Linked DNA regions of Homo sapiens: region 2 is linked to region 1. Evidence: promoter capture Hi-C in 16 types of primary human blood cells and fetal thymus (Javierre and others, 2016). All regions are on one chromosome and are shown on one strand. Each heading gives the region's core, a stretch centred on a gene start or on the middle of the fragment in contact. The rest is flanking DNA. Distances are from core to core; before and after follow the strand shown.

Evidence for each region. Contacts are between HindIII fragments. The CHiCAGO score rates a contact against its expected background, and 5 or more counts as called.
Region 2: a contact is called between a fragment that was not itself captured here and the fragment with the promoter of PAWR in region 1, in 4 of 17 cell types (total B cells, megakaryocytes, naive B cells and 1 more). The highest score is 13.7, in total B cells.

The regions. Positions count from the first base shown.
Region 1 is chr12:79,688,024-79,694,246 of GRCh38, reverse strand. PAWR (pro-apoptotic WT1 regulator) reads left to right here and starts at 3,283. Exons shown (of 7, transcript NM_002583.4): 1 at 3,283-3,375; 2 at 3,856-4,518. The coding sequence starts at 4,003. PPP1R12A-AS2 (PPP1R12A antisense RNA 2) reads right to left here and starts at 4,215. Exons shown (of 7, transcript NR_187531.1): 1 at 3,851-4,215. RefSeq lists silencers at 2,986-3,285, 4,056-4,575. The HindIII fragment of the contact is 6,027 bases long and covers 1,941-6,223 here.
Region 2 is chr12:79,545,976-79,552,594 of GRCh38, reverse strand. No RefSeq gene overlaps it. Among named protein-coding and RNA genes, the nearest start is that of MIR1252, 130 kb to the right of the region's middle. RefSeq lists enhancers at 4,852-5,146, 4,589-5,317 and a silencer at 4,852-5,146. The HindIII fragment of the contact is 2,255 bases long and covers 680-2,934 here.

The sequences.
Region 1 (6,223 bases), core at 2,034-4,533:
CCCGGGAGGCGGAGCTTGCAGTGAGCCGAGATCGCGCCACTGCACTCCAGCCTGGGAGACAGAGCGAGACTCCATCTCAAAAAAAAAGAAAAAAAAAAGAAAAAGAAAAGAAAAGTATATGTGTTATTAGTGTATTAGAGCTAAATCCTCTTCTATATCTAAAAATGGAAAAATCAAGATGTACAATAGCAGATATGCACATAAAAAATAAATATGAAGATCTCTATTAATGGAAACAGTTAAAAAGTTCAAAGTTTTGGGTAGGGTTTTCAGAATGGATAAGGTAGAGAGGGGATTGCTGTTTTTTGTTATAATCCTTGTAGAACTAAAGTATGTAATTTTTTTATCCTATGCACATATAATATTTTGATGTTAGAGGATGAATTGCATATGTTCCAGAAATACCTGCATTGAAGGCAAAATGGCTACTTCCCAATACACTAGCTATCCATACATATAATAATACACTTCCTCAAAATCATTAAGACTAACATCTAGGTTTCACTCTGACATATTTAAATGAATCTGTTTTTGTCAGCATTATCATCATATTTCATTTTATTATTAAGGGCAAGTGAGTCGCTAAAAATTGGTTATTTTAGGCTAACTCAGAGGTGCTCAACCGGGGAAGAATTTTATCCCAGGGACCATGTGGCAATGTCACAATACAGGTGGGGGTTTCTTATTGGTATCTAATAGGTAGAAGCCAACGATGCTGCTAAACAACCTACAATGGGCAGGACAGCAAAGAATTATCCAGCCCCAAATGTAACAGTGCTGAGGTTGAGAAACCAAGCTCCAAGTCTTTGAGGATTATTTCATCAGAACGCTATACATAAAGATTGATGATATGCAAACATCTTGCAATTTAGGACTGACTCAGCTAAATACCTCGGTGCAATGTTGGAAGCAGTCTGGCTGTGAAATATATCTTCGGGAATATTGAGAATGGTAAAGACAAAAGGTATAATAAATGATAATAATAACAAAACACAGAGCTTTGTACCTCAATAATCTCTTTCATCCATGGTTCCTAGGGCACTTTATAGACTAATAATACCTACTCTGGTACTCACATACCACCTTTTATCTAAGGACTGCAGGCACTTTCACAACACTCTCACGATGCAGGAAGTATTATTATCCCCATTTTATATGTAAGTAAACAGAGGCACAAAAGTTAAGCAACTTGCCCAAAGCCACACAAGTCAGTAGCAGCCAAAATTCCTGACTCAGAACCTATTAACACTAAGAGAACTGGTCTAAGCCATGCAGTGATAAATTTATGTGGGGTGTTATCCTAGTTCATTCAAAGTCTATCGTTTTTAGGCTGATATTGTATATTCAATACCCCATCTGTTATAATTTCCTCTTCTCCCATACACTTCTTAGAGACCAAGGACTTTAAGCCCCTAGAAGGGACTATGTTTACTGAGTGCCTTCCTCGAATCAAGCACATTTTATGTGCAGTGTCAGTTCTTAAGACAGCTTAAATATAATGTAATTGGGAGGCTGAGAGCAGGAGAATTGCTTGAACTCAGGAGGCGGAGGTTGCAGTGAGCTGAGATCCCGCCACTGCACTCCAGCCTGGCGACAGAGCGAGACTCCGCCTCAAAAAAAAAAAAAATGTAATTTTTGCTGATTTTATAGTACAGAAAGCTGAGTACCAGATAATGTAAACATGCCCAAGATCTCTCAGCTAGCTGACTATACCCTCTTTCCACTATATCCTGCAGCCCTTCCAGGAGAAAAGTCCTCTGATAAGTTACAAAGCATATGAATGTGAATACGTTTAATGTCCCAGCCTCCCTTACTCTCCTTAAAACTCAGAAAACAAACTAATGAATATGTAATTGAGAAACTTCAGGTGGCACACTGGGGTTGGTACTAGCTTAGGTAAACAGCCGCTCAGCCTTTTAGACCTATTCCCAACAAAAGCTTTTAATTTTCTAAGGATTTTTCCAGAGCTCTCGCCATACGTTTCCCACAACAGCCAGACCAAAGACCAAAACTGTCTTTCCCTGAGAAATATAGAGCATGTGAATCACTTTCTTCTGTTCCCAGTTCTGTGGCAGGCAAACACTGATTGCTCACTCATCATGTGCTACCTGGGCAAAACAGGAATATTAAGTAGGAAGAAAGGTTTATGTTAGGTAAGAGCGTGACTTAGGGCTCTCCTACTTTTTTACAAAATGGAGACCTGGCATTTGTAGCCTCCCACAATGATGTGCCCTGACATTACTTGGATATAGAAAGGTCAGTCTTAGGTGCGTCAGTGACAGCCCACCCCGCTCTGATCCAGAAATTTCAGATGACTTGCATCAGAGGATAAGCCTCTGGCATGTTAATAATGAAAAAATAGAGACAATCACTGCCCCAGCTCATCTCAAATTAGCATCAGTGCAGCGTTAGTACTTTGGTAGGGAGCTTTGCTGCTAAATTCATTCTCTGTAAAGAGGAGAGGCAGAGACAGGGTTAAGGGGAAAACTCCAAGACTGGAATCGCCAATACAATAAACTGTCGAACTGAGTTTTTTCTCCCGCAACCCTAAGATACTAGTAAGTCCTTCCTCTTAGCCAACCCTTTTCACCAGGGCACCGCAGTTTTCTTAGAAGGAGGGTGCTGGGTTTGTCTCAGGTCTTTCTATTCTCCTGCCCGCTGCCCTAGTACATCTGAAAAGGGAGCAGCGACTAGGAAAAGAGACACGTGGGTATTTTCCCATCCTGTCTAGTCATTCCCTGAATCATCACAAGTTATCGCACTTTTCCCCTTAGCCAGCAGCGTTCGAGACTTTCTCTCAAATAATACGGTCTTGTACTTAAAAGGAAGAGTGGTGGGAGAAGAGAGAGGCGGAGAAGACAAGCAAGAAGGGCGTGGAGTGCCGTTCCCGCCCCGGAGTCGGAGGCGCCGGGAGGCCGGACGCCGCGAAGCTGCTAGCCCAGGAATGTGCCGTCTAACTCGCAGGCCGCGGGCGGAGCGCGGCGGGCGCGCTGTGGTCTGCGGCGGGAGCGGGGCAGAGGACGGCTGGCGCAGGGCAGGCTGCAGCGGCGGGCCGGACGCGACGCCGCGCACCTGAGCGCCGGGGGCGGGGCGTCAGCGGCCACGACCCTTCCCACCGCGCGCCGCGCCCCTCGCGCGCCGCCTCGGCCTTTTCCGCTCGTGCTTCGGCGCCGCTCGGCTCCCTTCCCGCCCCTGGCTCCCTCCCTCCCTCCCTCCCTCCTTCTTCTCCCTCCCTCCTGTCCTGGGATTGCCTGGAGCTCCGCACCGCGAGTTTGCCGCGGCACTTTCCGCGCGGCGGAAGAGCGCGCGCCAGCTTCGGCACACCTGGGAGCCGGATCCCAGCCCTACGCCTCGTCCCCTACAAGCTCCTCCAAGGTAAGGCGCTCGCTCACACCCGGTCCTTTCCACGCTCGGCGGGACAGCTGGGTCCCCGCCTCCTCTGCGAACCGGCTAGGAGCTCCGCGCCTCGCCTTGGGAGTGGGGTTGTAGCTGACGGGGACCTCGGACCGGCGGTGGCTAGAGCGCGGAGCAGGCGATACGACGAGCCGACAGGTGGCGGGTCTAGCCCTAGTATCTCGACCGCCGCCGGCGCGGACCTTGGTGGGGATGGGGCGGGCGGGCCGACTTGGGGGTGGGGTCAGTCCTCTCTCCTCCCTTCTAGGGGCGGCGATCGTCGGGGTCCGTACTGTAGGTGCGTGGGAGAAACTTTGCAGGGTGGGGACCCGGCGGCTGCTGGCCGGTAGTGACTGGTGGGCGCGCTCGAGGACTCCAAGGGGCGCAGCCCGGGGGCAGACCCTTGGGTCGGGCGGGGATCTTACGCTTCCCTTACCCGCCCCCTTTTGTCTTTCACCTCAGCCCCGCCGGCTGCTGTGGGAGCGGCGGCCGTCCCTCTCCTGGAGGTCGTCTCCTGGCATCCTCGGGGCCGCAGGAAGGAAGAGGAGGCAGCGGCCGGAGCCCTGGTGGGCGGCCTGAGGTGAGAGCCCGACCGGCCCCTTTGGGAATATGGCGACCGGTGGCTACCGGACCAGCAGCGGCCTCGGCGGCAGCACCACAGACTTCCTGGAGGAGTGGAAGGCGAAACGCGAGAAGATGCGCGCCAAGCAGAACCCCCCGGGCCCGGCCCCCCCGGGAGGGGGCAGCAGCGACGCCGCTGGGAAGCCCCCCGCGGGGGCTCTGGGCACCCCGGCGGCCGCCGCTGCCAACGAGCTCAACAACAACCTCCCGGGCGGCGCGCCGGCCGCACCTGCCGTCCCCGGTCCCGGGGGCGTGAACTGCGCGGTCGGCTCCGCCATGCTGACGCGGGCGGCCCCCGGCCCGCGGCGGTCGGAGGACGAGCCCCCAGCCGCCTCTGCCTCGGCTGCACCGCCGCCCCAGCGTGACGAGGAGGAGCCGGACGGCGTCCCAGAGAAGGGCAAGAGCTCGGGCCCCAGTGCCAGGAAAGGCAAGGGGCAGATCGAGAAGAGGAAGCTGCGGGAGAAGCGGCGCTCCACCGGCGTGGTCAACATCCCTGCCGCAGAGGTGAGCCGGGCGGGGGCCGCAGCCGGACCGGGCCGGGGCGGGCAGCTGCCTCCCGGTGTCTTCCTCCTGGGAGCTACCCGGGGCGCAGAGTTTACCTCCCCTGGCTCGTACTTGTCCCTTCACCGAGTTAGGCAGGCAGGGGGTGATGGAGTTTTACTCTGAACAAATGCTTCCTGGGAAGTTCCCCAAACTCAGAGTAGGACACGTGCTTTTCAGGCTTCCTGGCCAGGTCTCAGATCCAGGATCCTTTTTTACCGTGGTAGAAAGACAACTTATGGCTCCAGGACTTGCCCACCTGGACTTGGCTGACTTGGCCACCTGGACTTGGCTGTTTATGCTTGATCAGTTAGAAAAATTGATTAATGGTGACGACATTCTCTAGGGTCTCACGTGCCCATGTGAAGTTACCAGTTTATTTCTCCTTTCTTACCAATGTTTAATAACATCTGTAAAGAAAATGTTGCCTTAGCAATATCCAAGACAGCTTTATCTTACAGTGAGCTCAAGATGAGTATATCCAAATGAATACGTGCACTATTTTATATATAAATCAGCTGTTTATAAGTTGTGCTCCTAAACACACAGTGTTTTTCTGAGTGATACTTAGGACAATAGGGATGATTTAGTAACCCACAATTCTGTTCGCTAAGACGATCTCTTTTTGAGTACTGTGTCTGAAAAACATGTGGTAGGGTTTTTGTTTGTTTTGGGTTGTTTGCAGTTTGGAGCATTTTCGAAACGTTACAGGTAGCAGCATCTTCCATTAGAGTGACTGGTAAAACATTTTTACTAAGTGTATAATCACACCTCCCTCTACCAGAAACAAGACAAAACAATCTCAAACAAGTTTTGATTACTTTGATAGTAGCTCATGGATTTGAGGAAGTGGTTCAACTACCTTGTTTCACCTAAAATAGTTGCATCTTTTTCTCATTGACTGTTTAGCTTTCACTTTTTCTTCTCCTGGCTTTCTAATTTTACTCAACTTTAATTGTGGTTTAAGTAGAAGCATTTGCAATAAGTTAGGGTGTATATTAAATATACCTAAATTTTTAGTATTATGATTTCCATACCTGTTAAATCATAGTGTGTCTTTGTAGGACGTATTTATATGAGCGTTTCAGAGATTTTTATCAGCCAGCAAAACTGTCCTCTGCGGTTTGCTACTTGCACAAAAGATCTGTTATTCATTAAATTGCTTTAGAAGGAATTCGTAAGAGTGGTAATCAAATTTCTAGGTGTTTTTTTTTTTTTTTTTTTTAGTTAAAAATATGAAGATTAAGGGGAAATTGAAGACAAGGCTTTGGAAAAGCTACATTCCTCAACTTGATTTTTAAAAGTAGCTGATGATCCAAATAAAAGAATTTGTCATTTTCAATCTTTTCCTCATTGTTCATCTGACAGCGGTCTTATTTTGGGAAATATCTTGGCAGATGTTAAACTTCACTTTTTTTCTGGCTGCATGTGCTAAAATTATTTTTCAAGTACTTTTTTTTTTTTTAAACAAGGGTAATGTTTACTGGGGGAAGTAAGTAGAGTGTATCTTGTGAGATCCTAAGAAACATCTTTTGTTAATACCCCTGCTTTGAGTAAGAGAACATAGTGCTGAGAATGTAGATGACTTCCCACTACAATGGAGTCTAATACTCTGGAATGTTTTTCGTTTGGGTGTTGGCAACTCCTAAATTTAATCTTCCCTGAAAAC
Region 2 (6,619 bases), core at 558-3,057, 140 kb after region 1:
CTGTTGCACATGGTGAGGATCTTTATGTTCATTGTGGAGGGAAAAGGGAGCCCAAGTCTAGAGATTGAGTATAAAGTTTGGGCCAAAAGCAGGAGTAGAGTCTGCTGGAAGACTCGCTAGCAGCCTTAGCATTGGCACCACCTCCTTACTAAAACCACATCTTGCTTCCTGGCAGAGCCTAGTACTGTTATAGTTGGCAGAGCATTACAGGGAGCTTGGAAGAACTTCCCCGGTACCTTCCAATTTTCCCTATTTGGTCAGTTCAGACTTGCGTTAGTGCAATAACCTCCTAACCAATCTCTTGGCCCCTATGCTTGCTTTACCTCCAGTCTGTTCTTCGCGTTGCACTTAGAACAACCTTTCCGAAGAACAGACCAGATCTTGTCATTCCTGTGCTTTAGCTCTTTCAAGGGTTTCCTGTTATAATTAGGATAAAGTAGAAATTCTTTAGCATGGTTGGTTTGCTCCTTCTATCCCTAGCCTTACTTCTCTCCACTGTGAACACCATGTTTCAGCCCAGCAGGACCACTATTCCTCCAAATGTACCATGTGCTCTCTCCCCTCTGCCGTGGGCATATTCTGCTGTTCCTTTAACATTGATCCATTCTTCCTCCTTTTCCTTCTTACTCCTACTTGTCTTCTGTGATCACTGCTTAAAAGTCATTTTTTTCAGAAAGCTTTTCTGAACCTCTTCTCCAACACTACCCCCACACATGTAGACTAGCACGCTCTAATATGGCCATCATCTTATTGTATTATAATTACCTTGTCTTATTGATATAATTTACATAACATAAAAGTCACTCTTTTAAATTGTACAATTCAGTGGTTTTTAATATATTTACAAGGTTATGCAATCACTATATAATTTGAGAACATTTTCATCACTCCTAAAAGAACCCACATACACACCCATTGACAGCCACTCCGTGTTTCCCCTTCCCCCAATCCCCTGACAATTATTAATCTACTTTTTATCTCTATTTATTTCCCTAGTCTGGACATTTTATGTGAATAGAATCATACCATATTTGTCCCTTTGTGTCTGTCTTCTTGCACTAAATATGTTTCTAAGGTTCATCCATGTTGTATTATGTATCAGTACTTCATTTCATTTTATGGTTGAAATATTCCATTGTATGTATGTACCACATTTTGTATATCCATTCGTCAGCTGATGGACATTTGGATTGTTTCCACTTTTTGAGTATTAATAAATAATGCTTCTATTAACATTTGTGTACAAGTTTTTGTATGGCCATGTTTTCAATGGTCTTGAGTATGTACCTAGCAGTGACACTGCTACATTGTATGGTTATTCTGATTCTGTATTGAGCTTTTGGAGGACTTTTCTAGAGTAGCCGCATCATTTTACATTGACACCAACACTGTATGAGGGTTCTGATTGTTTAGTGTCCTCACCAACACTTCTTTCTTTCCTTTTTTTCCTCCTCTCTCTCTCTCTTTTATCATGGCCATGCTAATGGGTATGACGTTACAATTGCCTTTTTACTGGTTTGTTTCCTTCATGACTCTGAACTGTGAAGGCAAGGACTGTGCTAGATCTGGTTTATTATTGTACTCCAGTGCCTAAAACATTGGGTACTCAACAAATATCTACAAAATGGGTGAGAAGACCTACAGCTTTCCTAGTTGCTTTGCTTCTATAAATCCAGGAAATATAGGGGCTAGAATTGGAAAAGATATTCTGGCTGCCAGTCCACAGCACTGTTCACCAGAGTGCCATAGGATTTTAATAACCACACTAAGTAAATGGTTCCATGGCTTTAATAGTTTTACCTAAGAAGTTCCCTGTGTGGAGAATGGCGTGAGTTCTCATTTAACTAGCTCAAAATGGGGAAGAACATACTCAACTCTGCTGGCATTTTAATCTGATTCCGGGGAGTCTTTCTATTCCAAACACCTTTTCTGAGGGCATGCGAACATTTCCTAATGAGAAAGCCATTCCTTCTGAGGGAAAGTGGGGGGAAAAAAGCAAAACAAAAGTTCCTTTACTGGAAACTGATGGCCACATCAATTATACATTCAGAATAATACAGATTGAACTCAAGTTGTCAGGTACTGAAACAACTCTATTTAGCCAAGTTACAAATGGGATCTCATCGACCCTTTCATAGCTATGTGTTTTTATTTGTCCCAGTGTACCAAATCTTGGATTCTAAAAGTGATCTGGAAGAGAAAAGATGCCTTTTCCTTGATTTCCTTGATTTGTCCTGTAAACAAAGTGCCTGTAAAAGAAAAGGCCATGATGCTTTCTTGGTAGCGTCGTTGGCGCTGTGATTAGGTGACAGGTGCCCTCCGTAAAACTCTTGAATTCATCTCCACCTTCAGTCCACGTTCCACCTAGTCGGGTTTTGCTCGGTGAGGAGTAGTCTTCCATAGCATTTTCTTCTATTCACTGTGCACCCTCCTGTACCATACTTCCATCCTTGTTTGTTTTCCTGTACTTTTTCTCTCTTCACCTGCTGTGAAATACAGTGTTGGCCCAACAATAGGAGTCTTCTATGAATTGTAGTCTTTAAACCCTGGGACTAGTTTTCTGCTCTATCTTCCTTCTAGTAAATGCAGATTTGGTGAATTACAATCCCCACTTGACTAATCTCAATAAACTTTTCCTCTATTATATTTTTTCCTTCAGAAACATAGAATGTGTTCATGAACTTTTGAGGGGAGAGAATGGGAAAGATTTGGGAAAGTCTTAGGTAAATAGTACTGACCTTGTGTAAAGAGTGTTAATGTTATTATATAGCAGTGAAAATACGATAGAAAAAATAACATAGTAATCATTGTCCAAATATGGCCCACTTGAACTCTGGATGGTATTTCAGCACTGTAGGAAAATTCCAGAAATCTCTCTGCCTACAAATATTTTCCTCACCTTATCTGCCTCTGCTGATAAATGGAGGATAAGCTTGACATCAGCAAATATTTGAAGAAGTACTGTACTTGAAGAAGTACACCACCAGTGCTGGAGGCAGCAGTATTCCAGTACATGAATTGCCTGTTATGTGCTTTACCTGATTTATTGAATACTTTCTGATTTACATTTTTACCCAGATCTTCAGTCTAACTTCAATAGGTTAGTTTGCATAAATTCTTGAAATACTAATCTCAGAGAAGTCTGATGCTAGTCTGCCCCTATACAGGAGGCAGAGTGTATGCCTAGGAACACTAGTTGAACTCATAGGAAGGGAGATTCTGCCCAAAAAGTTCAAGGAGTTCTAAGATTTCTTTTTTTTTTTTTTTCTTTTTTTTGAGAAGGAGTCTCACTCTGTCTCCCAGGCTGGAGTGCAGTGGCACGATCTCAGCTCACTGCAACCTCCACCTCCCGGGTTCAAGCGATTCTCCTGACTCAGCCTCCTCTCCTGCCTCAGCTGGGATTACAGGCTCCCGCCACCATGCCTGGCTAATTTTTGTATTTTTAGTAGAGACTAGTTTCACCATGTTGGCCAGGCTGCTCTCCAACCCCTGACCTCAGGTGATCCACCCGTCTCGGCCTCCCAAAGCGCTGGGATTACAGGCATGAGCCACTGCACCCAGCCGAGTTTAAGATTTCTAGCAGCCTTCTTTTCTTTTTTCTTTTCTTTTCTCTATCTCTCTTTCTTTTTCTTTCTTTCTTTCCTTCTTTCTTTCTCTTTCTTTCTCTTCCCTTTTTTTTTCAGACAGAGTCTTGCTTTGTCACCCAGGCTAGAGTGCAGTGGTGTGATCACAGCTACTGCAGCCTCAAACTCCTGGGCTCAAAGGATCCTCCCACCCCAGCCTCCTGAGGAGCTGGGACTACAGGTGCACACCTGTATAATAGTACATACCTGACTATTTTTATTTTTTTAGAGATGGGGTCTTGCTATGTTGCCCAGGCAAACCTTGAACTCCCAGCCTCAAGTGATCCTCCTGCCTTAACTTCCCAAAGTGTTGGGATTACAGACATTAGCCACTACCCCTGCTAGCTTTGCTTTCTTTGGTACGCCCCGGCTAGGACCAAATTTACTGGGACCCCGTTTATACACATAGTTTCTCAAGCAGTGAGAAACATGTGCCCCTGCTCCCCATATTTGCATACATGACTAATCTACTAATAGCTTTTGACCATTTGGGCAAACCCTGCATTTAAGCAAACCAAATATTTGTAACTTGAATATGGAAACAAAACAGAAATCCTGTACAAATGGGCTGTGCTGGATTATTTAACTTTTCATTTCTTTGAAGGGCTCCTTTTGCCCTTAGAGATAGCATTTGAGAGAAACTCCAAAATTCAGGCAGAAATTCAGGACAAAAAAGCAAGTTTAACCTCTGGTTTCTGAACTGTGGTGCATATTAGGCAAGACTGTTCCGGATAGACCAGAAACTTTGGCCTGTGCAATTCATGCTGCATGTCGCTATGATGTGCATCTGGATGTATTCACCCTGAGGTTGTTTATTTACAATGAGAATTGAAGGAAAAGTTCAGAAACATCCTGTCACAGGATGTGTGGATAGGCCTGCTGAATGCTGAAGCCAGAGGAAAGCAGGAAAGTTTCAGCAATTAGTGATGGCATCGCCCTCTAGTGGTTTGTCCGTGGCTTAAAAATGAATATACTGCAGGTGTATCCCAGTTCTCCAAAGAATTGTCCCAAATAAACTGTCAGATTGTGTACGGAAAAGAGAAAAGGAGGGGAAAGAGGAAGGGAGCAAGAGGGAAAGAAAGGAGGAGGGAGAGGATTCTTGCCAGGATAGCCCATCTCAGCAGCTAGGAAGCTCTAGGAGCCAGGCTTTCTGTAGAAGCCTTCTGACATCCAATTAGGCCCTCAGTGAAAACATTTTTTTCCCAAGCTTCTGGCAAGTGATTCTAGCTAAAAGTCACTATTCACGATTTGTAATAGGGCCCTGGGTTCCTTTCCAGCCTCCACAGCTTTGTACCAGCTTCCCCTCCCAGGTCCACATTCCATTCCTAGGTAAGTCATCACACGTGCTGAGAGGTAGAACTGTCTGCAGGGCAAAGTGTGTAGGTAGACCAGGCTTCTTTTCTTGCACCCCCACCCTTCTTTGTTTCCTTTATGCCTCATTGTCATCTCCCCAAATACTTTTGCTGCCCTTTATACTTAATTTCCTGTTGGCTCCCCACAGAAGAGCTGGTGGCCCAATTCCTCAGGTGCCTGAAAGAATGTTTAGAGAGCTGCCTCAGCCTTTAGGGAATGACAGGAATGCTGAGAATTTCAGGCAGTACTTTTCAGACCCACTGGAAAGAAAGTTTTGGCCCAGAGATGGGGCGGGGTGCAGGGGGTGGGAGGGATGGGTTTGGGGGGTCTGTGTGTGTAAGAGGAGCTTCAAAACCACCTCAGATCATAATTACCTAAGGCTATGGACTTGTCTGAAGCCTGGGAGTCTCATCGTGGAGTCATCTCGTGTTTGTTGACCTATAGGAACAGAGGCCTCTGGGAAAGTGGTTGTTTGTGTAGCAAATTATAGATATGTGAAATTAATTTGGCTCTGAGTCTTGAGACATGAGTTATTTCTCATAATATTTTAGTCATAGTCCCCATAGTTGGTAAACAGAGTAAGAAAACTTTTCAGTGTTGAAATGTAGACTATTATTCCTGGGTTTGTTAAATCCTGGAACTTCTCCTGAGTCTAATTTCATTACAGGAAGGAGGGGAAATCGTGAAGGTTTGACTCAGAACTGTCACCACAGTCTTTCTGATTCTCTATCCACATAAAGTTTTTTATTTGGTTATTTTTGAATGCTTTTTATTCAACTCAGAGCAACTTCGTCTTAAATGGGGGGGCTAGGTAAAATAAGGCTGAGGCCTACTGGGCTGCATTCCCAGACAGTTAGGAATTCTAAGTCACAGGATCAGATAAGAGGTGGGCACAAGATACAGGTCATAAAGGCCTTGCTGGTAAAAACAGGTTGCAGTAAAGAAGCCGACTAAAACCCACCAAACCAAAACCAAGATGACGATGAGAGTGACCTCAGGTTGTCCTCACTGCTACACTCCCATCAGTGCCATCACACTTTACCCTATATGGTCTAAAAAGGGGAGGCATGAATAATCCACTTCTTGTTTAGCATATCATCAAGAAATAACCGGAAAAGTGGGCAACCAGCAACCTGTGGGGCAGCTCTGACTATGGAGTAGCCATTCCTGTATTACTTTCCTAGTAAAAAGCCATTACTTTCCTAGTAAACTTGCTTTCACTTTATGGATTCGCCTCAAATTCTTTTTTGTGCAAGATCCAATAACCCTCTTTTGGGGTCTGGATCAGGACCTCTTTCTGGTAACATGAGGACAGTCAAAACCCACATCACAAACACAACAACCTTTGTGACACTTAGAGGAATTTCAAATGAGGAAGATGATTTGGTTGGTTGGGACTTAGTCTGGTAATGAGAGGCCTCTGCTTTAAATTATTTATTTACCTGTTATTCTAAGGCATGTCTGGCTCTTGATGAAGACTTACTGTTACCTTCAACTGTTGCATCCACTTCACGGGACTGTCCTTCTCCACCTTTTGTCTCCATGAAAACCACCTTGGAAACATAAATGTGTTACTTAGGAGAGGCAACACTTCAACTTACATTCAAAGAGTGCAAACATTACCATGCTTAACCAATTTAGTG